Regions from separate parts of the Homo sapiens genome. Here region 2 is linked to region 1. The links are contacts of gene promoters, found by promoter capture Hi-C in blood cells and fetal thymus (Javierre and others, 2016). All regions are on one chromosome and are shown on one strand. Each heading gives the region's core, a stretch centred on a gene start or on the middle of the fragment in contact. The rest is flanking DNA. Distances are from core to core; before and after follow the strand shown. Region 1 holds the start of ARHGAP31-AS1 (ARHGAP31 antisense RNA 1). Region 2 overlaps GSK3B-DT (GSK3B divergent transcript).

Region 1 (6,528 bases), core at 1,592-4,091:
TTCCCCTCCACCCTTTCTCCCCTGGTTCAAAGGCTCTGGGACTGGCCCATAGAGGCCTTCCCAGAATACAGGACTGCAACAGTGTGAGTGGGAAGAGGCAGACCCAGGGCAGACTCCCGACCCAGCAGTGTGGCCTTAGGTAAGCCTCCTTGGGCAAGCCACTAAAATATGTTGCCTGTAAAGGGGGAACAACATCTCTGAAATCAGCCTGTAGAGTCACAGCGTCTTGGGAAGATCAACAGAGATGATATGTGAATGTGTTTCTAAAATATTAATGTGCATGACAGCTGCGATGGTTTCCTATCCTAGGACAACCATTTCAAATTTAAAAATCTTCCTTTCCCCTACTTCCCACACAACTAAGTAAGAATTTTAAGCAAAATTTTATCTTAGCATCCAAAAAAGATGAATATGCATGTGTAGTATCTGTGTTGATATAGGTAGGTATGATTCAACAGTTACAGCTTGCTGCATCACTAGTTACTAGAAGGCAGTGATTCTGTGACTTGAAGATATTTTAATTAGCACCAAACACACTGAGAGTGTTCAATAAACATTAACCAATGAGGCCTAATTTAAGACGGCATCATATAAGTCCACACTATGCCACTATTGACATGAGGAGTACTGCTTATTGCTTACCCAAATGACACATTTTCACCTTTTAAGTAAAGTATAGCACCTTCATTTAGCCATTCCGCTGATCTGCAAACTGAGAGACCAAGAGACCTTGGTTTATTCAAAATTGGTTCTCTGTTTTACTAAAAGGAGTCGTCCATTAAAAGTTATGCTCAATACTAAATACCAGTTAGAATAGATACAACTGTGCTGCCTTCACCTACACTAAGGGCTAGGGGTTGAGAGTAGAGAAAGACTCCTCTCCCCACTCTTTGTTTTTCCACGTCTATCCTTAAACATTCTTTGAGGATCTGATTCTCGAAAGGGTTTTTGTTGTTTATGTTTGTTTGTTTGTTTCTTTTAATAGCTACAAATCTCCTTGGGAGGGACAAGGAACCTTGATGTGAACCACATGTGGAATACAGCAATGGTACCCAAGCTTTTTGGATTTCACAGATCAAGTTTAAAAGATTTTGGGGGATCTACCTAGGACTGCTAATTTTTTATTTTTCTGAGAGAGGACATCAACCAACAATAACTATCGTATTTCATAACAGAATGGACAATTCAAAATAACTAAAACTATGAAGCATATAGTCTTAGAATAAAGAATTGTCCTGTTCAAGAAAGGACAAGTGTAACCTTAAAATTGTTATAATACATCCGGATAAATTTATTACATAGATGGCCCTACATTTCCTATGGGTCTGCGGTTGTGAGCCACTGTTCTAGACGGCTAGGAGGGTTTGAAGTGAGTTGAGAACCTTTACTGTCCTGAAGATGGGGTAGGGGCTAGACAAGGGTATATTCTAAAAAGAGGAAAGCGCTACTGTAATAATCTTGCCTAGGATTACATACAGATGGGCATAACAGAGTCCCAGGACTTCACCCCTTCGGTGTAGAGCAGGGATGGCAGGGATGGCAAGAGCCCCACTTAGGATACCTGGAAAAAGAAATCTCCGCAGCAAAGGGTCCTTGTGCTGACTTTTCTTTTTCATTTACGAGTGTACCCTCTGTCTCCTTGGGGGCCCACCTTCTTATTCCCAGCAGGAAAGGGGAAGGGGGAGGACAGGAAATGTGGAAACCGCGTTAACAGCCTGATTGTGAACCAGCACTGCGACTGAGATGCGAGGAGGGAAGGACAAAAGTCCCTCCCTCGCTTTTCAAAAAGTAAGCCACAAAAGTTATAGAAACATTTTCTATTAAACATCATCTCCATTTTGCAGAGAACCTAAGGCTCCGAGGACTTGCCCAGGGCCATACAGCCGGTGAGCCCCAGGGCTCAGCCACAGCCCAGGTAACGAGGACAGGGCTTGCTCCAGCCACCATTGGCTGCCTCTTCGGCCTCCCTCTCTCAGGTGAGACAGTATGTCAGGTGAGGCAACTGAAACAATGTCCCTCAGTTCGGATGCATCCTCCCTCTTCGTTTCCTGTCATGAGACAGGTTTCTCCTCTTCCTGGATGTGGTTAAAAAAAAAAGAAGAAGAAAAGAAACAAAAGAAAAAAGGAAAGAAACGCAAAGCAAAGCCAAGCCCAACGTCTTGGCTCTCAGGGTTGCACCTCCTTTCTCTACCCGCGGGGTCTGGGCCGGCGGGGTGTGGCCGCAGCCCTGGGGCGCGAGAAGCCCATCCGGGCCCGAGGTGCTGGGCGGCCTGGAGCGCTGGCTGCCCCCAGGGCCGGCGGCTGTCCCTGGGGTTTCCCCGCTTCTGGGCTTTCCCCGCTTCTGGGCTCGGTGGCCGCGCGGGCGGGCGCCAAGTGACTCAGCCGTCCCCGAGGGCGTTCCGGGAAGCGGCCGGGGGCGCGGGCTTTCCTGTCGCCGCAGCGTGTGAGTCCCCAGCGCCGAAAGGGGATCAGAAACCGCTGGGCGGAGCAGCGGGAGGAAGCTGCGGCGCGCAGAGCAGAGTCAGCGCCACCGTCTTTCGAGCTGGAGCGGAGGGAACGTGGCCTTGACGTTGCTGAAGCTGAAGCGCCGGGCGGGCGCCCGGACCCCGGGGCGGGGCAGAAACGAGTCCGTTCCCTACTGCGGGGCGGGGGCAGGGCTGGAACGGGAGTTCAGGAGGGACAAGGACGTGGAAGGAGCCCAGCAGAGGGCACCCGGGACCCCCGCGGCCGGGCCGAGTTTGAAGGGAGCCCCTCTCCCCCTCCCCCTGGCGGAGCCCCCTGTAGGGTCTGACCTGGTGCCCCGCAACAGGAGCGGGAGGAGGAGCAGGCCCAGAGCGGCCGGGCCCCAGCCTAGAGGGGCGCTCGAGGGGAAGCGAGTGAAGTGAGGGCTCCGCCAGAGCAGCACCCCCTTCCCCGCCGTCCCTCCCGGACTGGCCGGTTCTCGTCAGAGATTCCTTTGTCTTCGACGCTGGTCCCTCCACACCAAGGTGGGAGGCTGAGGTGGGAGGTGGCAGAGCGGTGGGAGTGGGAGCAAGGCCGGAGCGTGGGTGGAGGCGCTGGCCGCGGGCTTGCAAGGATGGCACAAGGGAGACATCCAGGACAAACCATGGGGAACACAGCTGCCACTGAGAGAAGCTGCCCGGAGGAGGAAGGGGCTGCAAAGTTCAACCACCAGGCAAGGCAAGTCCACGAACAAAATCCCGGCTCTAAAAACAGAGCAGCAATTGTCACTGTGGGTTAGACGCTTTGAGTTACCTCTATTTTCATTTATGTCTAAGATAAATTCAAGAGACAAGGAGAAAGTCAGGAGGTTAAAATTCCAGCCTCTGGTCCCAGCTCCCTAAAGCCAGCTCCCTTCTTGTCTTTGCCAAAGTTTGCTTCTATGAATCAGTAATTAACCCCCACTTTTTTTCTTATGTCAGAGTTCCTTCAGTCACAACCAAGAGAGTTCTGACTAATAACACACCTTTTAATCCAGCAATTTTACTTCTGGGAGTTTATTCCAAAGAAATATTACATAACAAAAGAGCCATATGCCTCACAATATTCACTGTGGGCTTGTTCATAAAATTAAAACAATCATAACTATAAATGTCCAGTAATGGAGGCAGGGAATAAACTGGCATATTTATATGATAAACTACTATGGGCCGGGCGTGGTGGCTCACGCCTGTAATCCCAGCACTTTGGGAGGCTGAGGCGGGCAGATCACCCGAGGTCAGAAGTTCAAGACCAGCCTGGCCAACATGGCGAAACCCCGTCTCCACTAAAAATACAAAAACAAGTTAGCTGGGCGTGGTGGTGTGGGCCTATAGTTCCAGCTACTTGGGAGGCTGAAGCAGGAAAATCACTTGAGCCCGAGAGGTAGAGGCTTCAATGAGCTGAGATCGTGACACTGCACTCTGGCCTGGGCAACAGAGCGAGTCTCCGTCTCAAAACAAAACAAAACCTACGGAGCCTTAAAATGTTATATGTAGGGTTTTATAACTTGAATAAAGACTTCGGTTATAAGAAAGCAAGACACAAAATCATATATATATATAATATATATATACACACACACAGTGTAATCACAATATGAAAATGTACATAGAAAAAAAACACTTGAAGGAAATCCACCAAAATGTTACATCTTTGGGTGATAGAATTACATACAAGTATTTTTTTCTTTCTAAAACATTTATGTATTTCCCAATTTATCTACAATGAGGATAAGCATGTATTATTAAAAAGTATGAAAACATTGATTTTAAAATTTTACATATATAGTATATAATTATATATACATAATACATATATATATACTATATATATATATATAGTATATATATATATGTGAAATTGCTGCTGAATAGGAAATCACCGGGCCTGGGTGAAAGATGATAAAATTTACTTGAGCAATTTTTCCACTAATTGAATGATTTTTCTGCAATTTAAAAAGGGTATATGGAAGTTAAAGAGGATGGGTCAATGTTTATACATCTGTATTAGTTCGTTTTCACACTGCTGATAAAGACATACTGGAGACTGGGCAATTTACAAAAGAAAGAGGTTTAATGAACTTGCAGTTCCACATGGCTGGGGAGGCCACAAGTCATGGTGGAAGATTAAAGGCACTCAAGAGAAGAGAGAGCTTTTGCAAGGAGACTCCCGTTTTTCAAAACCATCAGATCTCGTGAGACTTACTCACTATCACAAGAACAGCCCGAGAAAGGCCTGGCCCCATGATTCAATTACCTCCCACCAGGTCCCTCCCACAACACGTGGGAATTCAAGATGAGATTTGGGTGGGGATACAGCCAAACCATATCAATGTCCAAGATATTAGTGAAAGGGAAGGGCATGCCACAGTAGGCCAGAGGAGAGAAAACATCTGAGTTTTAGAATACACAAAAAGAAAATGATGAGATCGCAGCTGATTCTTGATTGGTGAGGACTTGCTGGTTTGTGGGCAGAAGTAATGGAACTTTTAATGGCAAAGGGAAGAATACACTCAAACATTATTTAAGATAGGAGGTAAGGGAGTAATGGGTAAGGTTACTGCATCATGAAAAGTTTTGTTTACAATGGGTTTACTGTATTTATCAGGATAATATTTTTTAATCCTGAAGAATAGGTGTGCAAAATGAATTTAACATCTTCACATTTGGCCCAAGGTTGTTGATACCAGTATTATTATCTTACCTTAGCAATAGGATGAGTATGCTTATTTTGGGTTGGAAAATGCCTAATGATCATGTAGCCCCTTATTTGGGGCCTATTCCTCTTCTATAGGGAGGGAAGGAAGAATATCAAGAAAGCCTCATGTCTAAGTGCCCTGTATCCCTGGAGATCTTTATGTAGCAGCAGAGAATAGACACTGATAAAACCAAGTTTCGCTAGTTTGAGAACTGTTCAGTCTTGTGGGAGGATCTGGTAGAAGGGAGAATGCAGCAATATCCTTCAAGTAATACTACATACCATACCTTGAACAAGGAATGTAGCATAAACTGGTGAGGACCTGTGTTATGATAAAAGGCAAAGCTTTTGCTCTGGGATTGAAATCTAGGACTCTCTGTGGGGTAGATGTAGAATTTACCAAGCCATACACAGAGAGGTGTGGGTCTGGGCTTAAGGAAATCTTGGGTCATTCCAGTTCCCCTCCCTTGATTCTTCCCCTGCCAGGGGAGATCCCTTGCTGATCTCACCTTGTGTGGGCTTTTTATCATTGTCCCTCCCTCACCTATTGAAAGCTGTACACGTTTTACTGGGAATGAAATGGGAGGTGTCACTAGGTTGAGGGTCAGACACTGGACATTCGTGGATTCACAGCCTTCCTCTAACAACTTGACCATCTCACCAACCTCACCACCCTGTTTTCCAATCACTGGAATAGATTATAGGGAAAGAGGGGGAACCGCTCATGGTTCTTTTTAGACTTTTAAAATTAAAGTCTGTTAGAGCCAGGGGATATGATGCTTCAGTACTAGGAAAATGTTTGGTTATCTACAGATTCTTGTTGATTAAATGAAATAAGCGCAAATGTTTGGGTTGGATATGACTGTGTTGGCATCTAGATGGAAGGTGGGAACTGCCTTGCTTGATATCCTGCAATTTATGGAATGCAGTGAAATGTTATCTTCTTAAGATGTCTTATGCTATAATGTACCGTGGTTTCTTAATATTTTCCACAAAAATAAAAGACGGTGGCAGAGAAATTATCTTTTTAAAAGTTATTACAGCAGAACAGAAAGCAATGATCTTTGCTTTGTCTAAAATCAAAACACCAACATAAATATTTGTATGACACTTGGGCTCACAAAATAGAAAAATTTTCTGACCCATCCCTAAAAAGAAAGAAACAAAAAAAACTCTAGAGTTTTTTTTTTTTTTAATATATGATGAAATCCAGAAGGTGCTTTTATCTCATAGCACCCATACCAGAAGATTAATCTCTGTGGTTGGTGTCTTGTTCTGGTTGAAAATGCGTTTGAGCCGAGCTTTGGAATCCTCACTAGTTAGAACATCTGTTCCACAGTTGTTAATGTT
Region 2 (6,528 bases), core at 2,379-4,878, 780 kb before region 1:
AGACCTTAAATATCAATAAATTTAGTCAGGCCAGTTTTTCCTCCAGTATTGGAATGTATCACTCTTTCTTTGGTTGAGCACCAGATGAAGAATTGTATTTGACTTGCATATATGGGTTGTGTTGTTAAAAAAAAAAAAGCCCTGAACTGTTTTTAAAAACTACCAATACTTTCATTTTCGTGAAATGGTAACACAAATAAGAACCTTGCGGAAATGGGGACCACCAAGTGAGGAAACAGCAGATGGACCTCCCATTCTCATATTCTATATGAGCTATTGATTACATTAACTCTATATGAGCTATCTGATTACATTAATAATGAACTAATTAGGAATAGTTTCGCAATCCGTATTTCATTGGCTCCTGTCTTTGCTTGCTGATGCCGAACTTCAGCTCCTTGCAAAATCCTCTGCCCATAATTTCTAAGAGCCCCTACACAGTGTTTTACATGGGCTCAAGAATAAGGCATATCTGCGGCCACGTGGATATCTGCTGCTGAGTTTTCTTGAACACTTCTAGTACTCATCAGTGAGCCAGCCCCATTAAGCCAGGTCATTACCATGTGCTGCTGGACATCTTCATGACCTCCGTTGTGGCCCTCAAAGAATCAAAATGCTTGTTTCCTGGAATCTCCAATACTGCAAAATCGTGCCATCATTTTCTGCACAAGTGGCAACAAGCTGTAACCCCTCATCTTTTGATTATGTTGTGTGATGTAGTAATGATTTTAGTGCACTCCTATTTCTGCTCTTGGTACTTTCCTAGTGGACTCCACGAGGCTGTATTGGAATATGAATCTTCAAGATAGGTAAGGTGTCATTCCCTCAATCCAAGGATTAACAGCTGGCATGGCATGGGCACTGACCAACTGGAACACTGGCTGGTGCACTGTAGCTGTGCAAATTGACTGAAAAGCAGTCTGGCCAACCCCCACCTCTCTGTCATCCACACTTCTTGGCAGTCTTTCCACCAAAACCCTTATGTAAATCACCTCTTGGCAGCCTGAAACTACCAATTTGCCAGATATGCCATGACATGTTTGAAGCCTGGTGGTGAACGGAGACTTGCCCCAAGCTGTGATTCTATTTGAATGCATCTAATTAAGAAATTTTGATACTCAAATTATATTGTAGAACCGATAATAGGAAAAAAATTAATGTAAGAAAAAATTCAGAAAACTAAAAAATTAATAAAACAACTTTTTTGGGGGGAGTATTTTCTCAGAGTGCTTGTCCATATGCAGATATTTTATAAAGTTGTAATTTTGATGGTTATAATTGTTTCGCTTTTTCAATTACAATCACACTACTCATTTTGCCAACATTTACTGAGTTCCCACGATGTGCACAGCATTGACTGAGATCAAGAGAAATGCCTTACACCTCCATGTAATTCTATTTATACTGGAAGAAAGTTAGATAATGAAGGCAAAGCATGTGCGTGTCCTCATTTGGCAACTCCCTGTTGATGAATTCTTTTTTTCCCACTAGATGGTTTCTCTGGTGCTTAGAAGTACTTCACTTTAACTCCTCTCATGCCAGATTAAAAGCTTAACCTCCATAGGATAGTTTGCTTCCTCAGAGTTCCAGCTGATATGGCTGTGTAAGATATTTGTTTTTAATTCTAAAAGGGTCCAAGAGCCTTTGGCCTTGGAAATATTTTTAAAATGCAGTTGAATAAACCAGTTAGGTTTTAAAGCATATACAGCAGTTTTCTCAATTTGTTGCAAGCAAATGTTTCCCACCATATGTGGCACAGACCTGGGCACACAGTAGACAACAAGCACTTCCTGGTGGAATTAGGATATTCGTGTCTTTTCATGTGTTGTCCAACACAGGCCAGCAAAATTTATGAAATTCTATATAATCATATTTAAAGTCCTTAAGGATAAAAAGTACAATTGGAACACTTTTGATAAGAAGACTAAAAATGAAAACTGTATTCAAATTGTCAAGAAGTGGTTAGAGAAAGTAGAAGTGTACTCAACTGTCTCGGACATGTTGAGTCCTCAAAAAAAAAAAAAAAAAAAAAAAAAAGAAAAAAAACCAGACTGGGTATAGTGGCTCACACCTGTAATCCCAGCACTCTGGGGGCCAAGGTGGGAGGATTGCTTGAGGCCAGGAGTTCAAGACCAGTCTGGACAACGTAGGAAGACCTCTGCCTTTACAAAAATAAAAAAATTAGCTAGGTCAGTTGTGTGCCTGTAAGTCCCAGCTACTTGGGAGGCTAAGGCGGGAGGATTGCTTTATCCCTGGAGGTAGGCTGCAGTGAGCCATGATCACACATCTGCACTCCAGCCTGGGTGACAGAGCAACAAATTATCTAAACAATAACAACAACAATAAAAACAAACAAACAGAAAAGAAAAAACAATCAGAGTTGATATTTTCCTAAGACTCCTAACTGGTCCTAAGAGTAGCAAGATTTAGTTAGGGGAATAATGGTTATTTTTCCTAAATTACTACTTTTATCTTCAAGTACTGAACACTACTAGTGCATACACAATATACATTGTAAAAATAAAGAACAACAGCACCAGCCTGGACAACATGGCAAGACCCTGTCTCTACAAAGTAATTAAAATAGCTGGGTGTGGTGGCATGCACTTGTAGCCCCAGCTACTGCGGGGGAAGGGGGCAGTGGCAGGGCATGGCTGAGGCAGGAGGGTTGACCTGAGCCCAGGAGTTTGAGGTTGCAGTGAGCTATGATCACACCACTGCACTCCAGCCTGGGCAGCAGAGCGAGACCCCATCTCTAAAAATAAAAATAAAAAAATAAGACAGCAGAGATAGTAAAACATCTTAAAACTGAGCTATAAACTCTCATAAGGATCCTTTCTGGTTTCATATCTGGCACTTCATACTACTGTCTGATCTAGATGTTACAGAGAAACACATTCCTTGAGGCTTTGTACATTCCTTCCCATTTTCTTTCAAGATTCCATCCTACAGGGCACAGGAATGAAGCATCCTGATACAATTCAAATAAAGTTTTGGCCTGATTAAGGGAGACCAGTCCTCTCTGCATTCTGAAATTCCTTTTTGGATGATCCATAGGAGGTCTTACTTTTTTTTCACTTCCCTGCACCCCTGGCCAAGGATATTCAATATCCAAGAAACCAAATACCAATTTTCTTGTAGCTTTCACATTTCCCATCAACATGACATAGATTAAAGACCAAAAGACTTCTGTTCCATTCTGAGAGATGTGAGTCCCATTTCCATGTGAAGGAAATCTGACCGTTCCCGATTTACAGCTACTGAGGGCCTAAAATATTTGTTCTGAGAATTTCTCAGGCCTATATTTATTACATTTTAATGCACATAAAACAAAGCTGAATTCCTAGAATTTGCTGTAAAGAAGTATACTTCAAGTATTCAATCAACACATACTGTTTTCAATTCATTTATTCAATGTGAAAATATTTACACTCTTGTATAAAAAAGCTCTTTTCAAAAAATGTGAATGGAAATGAGGTAAAATAAATAAAATTGAAGTAGTTCAAAATAATCTAATCGGTAATAATATAGTAAACCACATGATTATACCCTTAGAAGTAAACATGTGACAAGCATGAAAAACTAAAAGGATTTGTTAGAGGCATGTGAACCAGAGCAACTCCATCTTAAACAGGAGCCGGGCAAAATGAGGGTGAAATCTATTGGGCTGCATTCCCAGATGGTCAGTTAAGGCATTCTAAGTCACAGGATGAGATAGGAGGTCAGCACAAAATACAGGTCTTAAAGACCTTGCTGATAAAACAGGTTGCAGTAAAGGAGCTGGCCAAAACCCACCAAAACCAAAATGGCGACGAGAGTGACCTCTGGTCGTCCTCACTGCTACACTCCCACCAGTGCCATGACAGTTTACAAATGTGCCATGACAGTTTAGACCCTATGTGGTCCAAAAAGGGGAGGCATGATTAATCCACTCCTTGGTTAGCATATCATCAAGAAACGACCATAAAGAATGGGCAACCAGGCCAGGTGCGGTGGCTTATGCCTGTAATCCCAGTACTTTGGGAGGCCAAGGCGGGCAGATCAACTGAGGTCGGAAGTTCAAGACCAACCTGACCAACATGGAGAAACCCTCACTCTACTAAAAACACAAAATTAGCCGGGCGTGGTGGCGCATGCCTGTAATCTCAGCTACTCGGGAGGCTGAGGCAGAATTGCTTGAACCTGGGAGGTGGAGGTTGTGGTGAGCCGAGATCACGCCATTGCACTCCAGCCTGGGCAACAAGAACGAAAACTCCATCTCAAAGGAAAAAAAAAAAAGGGCAACCAGCAGCCCTCAGGGCTGCTCTATGTAGTAGCCATTCTGTTATTCCTTCATTTTCTTAATACTTGCTTTGACTTTTGCACTGTGGGGTCACCCTGAATTCTTTCTTGTGTGAGATCCAAGAACCCTCTCCTGGGGTCTGGATCATGACCCGTTTCCTGTAACAGATTCAAGTGTTTTTCTTTTATTTTCTATAGTATACTCCTTTAAGATGTCAAAATCAGAGTATTTATATAATTTGCCAAAGGCTTGATATGCAACTTTTCATACAACCAGTCTATTTCACAGTGACAGTGTTTCAAACACTCTCCCTCTTCTTTTTGGGTAGTCATTCATTAATTTCCCATTTGGGCACACCTCACTGGTTATAAGACACATAACCAACTATGCCACATCTTGTTACTCTGGGCATATTTTCAGCAACAGGAAAAACCACAGTGTATGTTACTTCAGAGGCTTTCCTATAATGGTAATGTCTTACATCTGCTAAAGTACCTCTCCACTGTCTACAGGACAAAGCCCAGTTTTTTTTTTTTTTTTTTCCTGTAACAAAGCTCCCTCAAACCTACCTTTTCAACCTTATCTTCCATTAGTCTTCTCTATCAGCTTTTTGTTCCAGCCAAACTGGTTTTCCCAAAGTCAGAAGAACAGAGTCACACTGTCCTTAATTGCTGTTACAGCTCCACCCACATGCAGGTTTACTAAAGAGAGGTTTTATCTGATGGGTTGAAATTGAAGTGATGGAAAGTAATTTACCTCCCCTCTTCTTTCTTCATCTTCAAATCCTACTACTCCTCCTTTAAGATCACTTTAGATTGAAGTGTCCTCCACTCACCTATTATAAATAGGAATGCATGGGCAATTTATTTTAAACTTTGTAGTAACAACCATATTAACAAATTATAGGCCAGGCATGGTGACTCACGCCAGTAATCCTAGCGTTTTGAGAAGCCATGGCACGCAGATTTTGAGCCCAGGAGTTTGAGACCAGTCTGGGCAACATGGCGAAACCCCATTTATACAAAAAATACAAAAATTAGCTGGGTGTGGTGGTGCACCCTTGTAGTCCTAGCTACTTGGGGGGCTGAGGCAGCAGGATCCCTTGAACCTGGGAGGTTGAGGCCGCAGCACTCCAGCCTGGAGGACAAAGTGAGACCCTGTCTCAAAAAAATAAATAAAAACCAAATTATGTTCTGTCTCATAACTTTTATCAATTCAAAATGTGATTTTTATAATTTATTTAACTTTTCATGTAGTTGCTTCCCTAGAGGGTAAACTCCCAAAGGACACTGATCCTCTCATCCACCTTATATCAGATGCCTAGCAGGTGTCTCAAATATAATACTTACTCACTATTGTCTAGTTTTACTATTTTAACTTATATGACAAAGGATTATCATAAAAATTTTCGTTGGAAAGCTTTGCTGAGAAATGTGAATTTTTTTTAAGAATTCCATTGTAATTAGAGGCTTCTGAGGGACATGTGAATCATAGTGAAGAAATAATATAAATGTTATTTTTTGGGCCAATTCCCCTTAAAATCAAACACAGAGGTGGGGTACAGTGGCTTACACCTGTAATCCCAGCTACTTAGGAGGCTGAGGTGGGAGGACTGCTTGAGCCCAGAAGTTCAAGGCCATAGTGAGCTATGACTGTGCTACTGCACTCCATCCTGGATAACAGTGAGATTAAAAGATAAATAAAAGTAAAAAAATAGAAATTTATTATAAAAATACTAAGCAAAGACATTTAAATATTTTCATTTATATTTAAATATGTTATTGACGAGTTATTCTAATTTGTCTTCCTTTCCAATCTTGATCCAAATGTACTTATATTTTACAGATTGGAAATATGGTAGATATACAACCTGAAGTTCTATATTTTTCAATTAGTATTGTTTCCTAAACATATTTCTGAGTTACTTTTGGTGGTTGTATTTATTTTTACTGGCTGCCTAATATGGAGTTAATACAGCATAGTTTACTTTACTCCTCTATTATCCTGTGATATTTTCCTTTATTTTCTCTTGGCCCACATCTTAGACATTACATAATTTCAAACTATCTCAAGGTCTCCAAATACCTTGTTAAACATTTCAGCCATTGCATAACCTTTTCTCTTTGCCTGGAATGTTCTTTCCTTCCTTATCCATCTGTACAACTGTACAACTATTCTTTGTCTAAACTAGTGGTTCATAAACTTTTTTTTTTTTTTTTTTTTTGAGACGGAGTTTTGCTCTTGTT

What was found. The method cuts DNA at HindIII sites, captures the fragments that hold promoters and counts their contacts. A CHiCAGO score of 5 or more calls a contact.
Region 2: a contact is called between a fragment that was not itself captured here and the fragment with the promoter of ARHGAP31-AS1 in region 1, in 1 of 17 cell types (non-activated CD4 T cells). The highest score is 5.1, in non-activated CD4 T cells.

The regions. Positions count from the first base shown.
Region 1 is chr3:119,319,073-119,325,600 of GRCh38, reverse strand. It overlaps ARHGAP31-AS1 (ARHGAP31 antisense RNA 1), which reads left to right and starts at 2,841. Exons shown (of 2, transcript NR_046748.1): 1 at 2,841-2,987. The region is part of intron 1 of ARHGAP31 (Rho GTPase activating protein 31); the gene reads right to left. RefSeq lists enhancers at 1,456-2,312, 2,313-3,170 and silencers at 2,134-2,483, 2,534-2,893. The HindIII fragment of the contact is 4,466 bases long and covers 1,060-5,525 here.
Region 2 is chr3:120,097,303-120,103,830 of GRCh38, reverse strand. The region is part of intron 1 of GSK3B-DT (GSK3B divergent transcript); the gene reads right to left. Among named protein-coding and RNA genes, the nearest start is that of GSK3B-DT, 5.5 kb to the right of the region's middle. The HindIII fragment of the contact is 4,151 bases long and covers 1,553-5,703 here.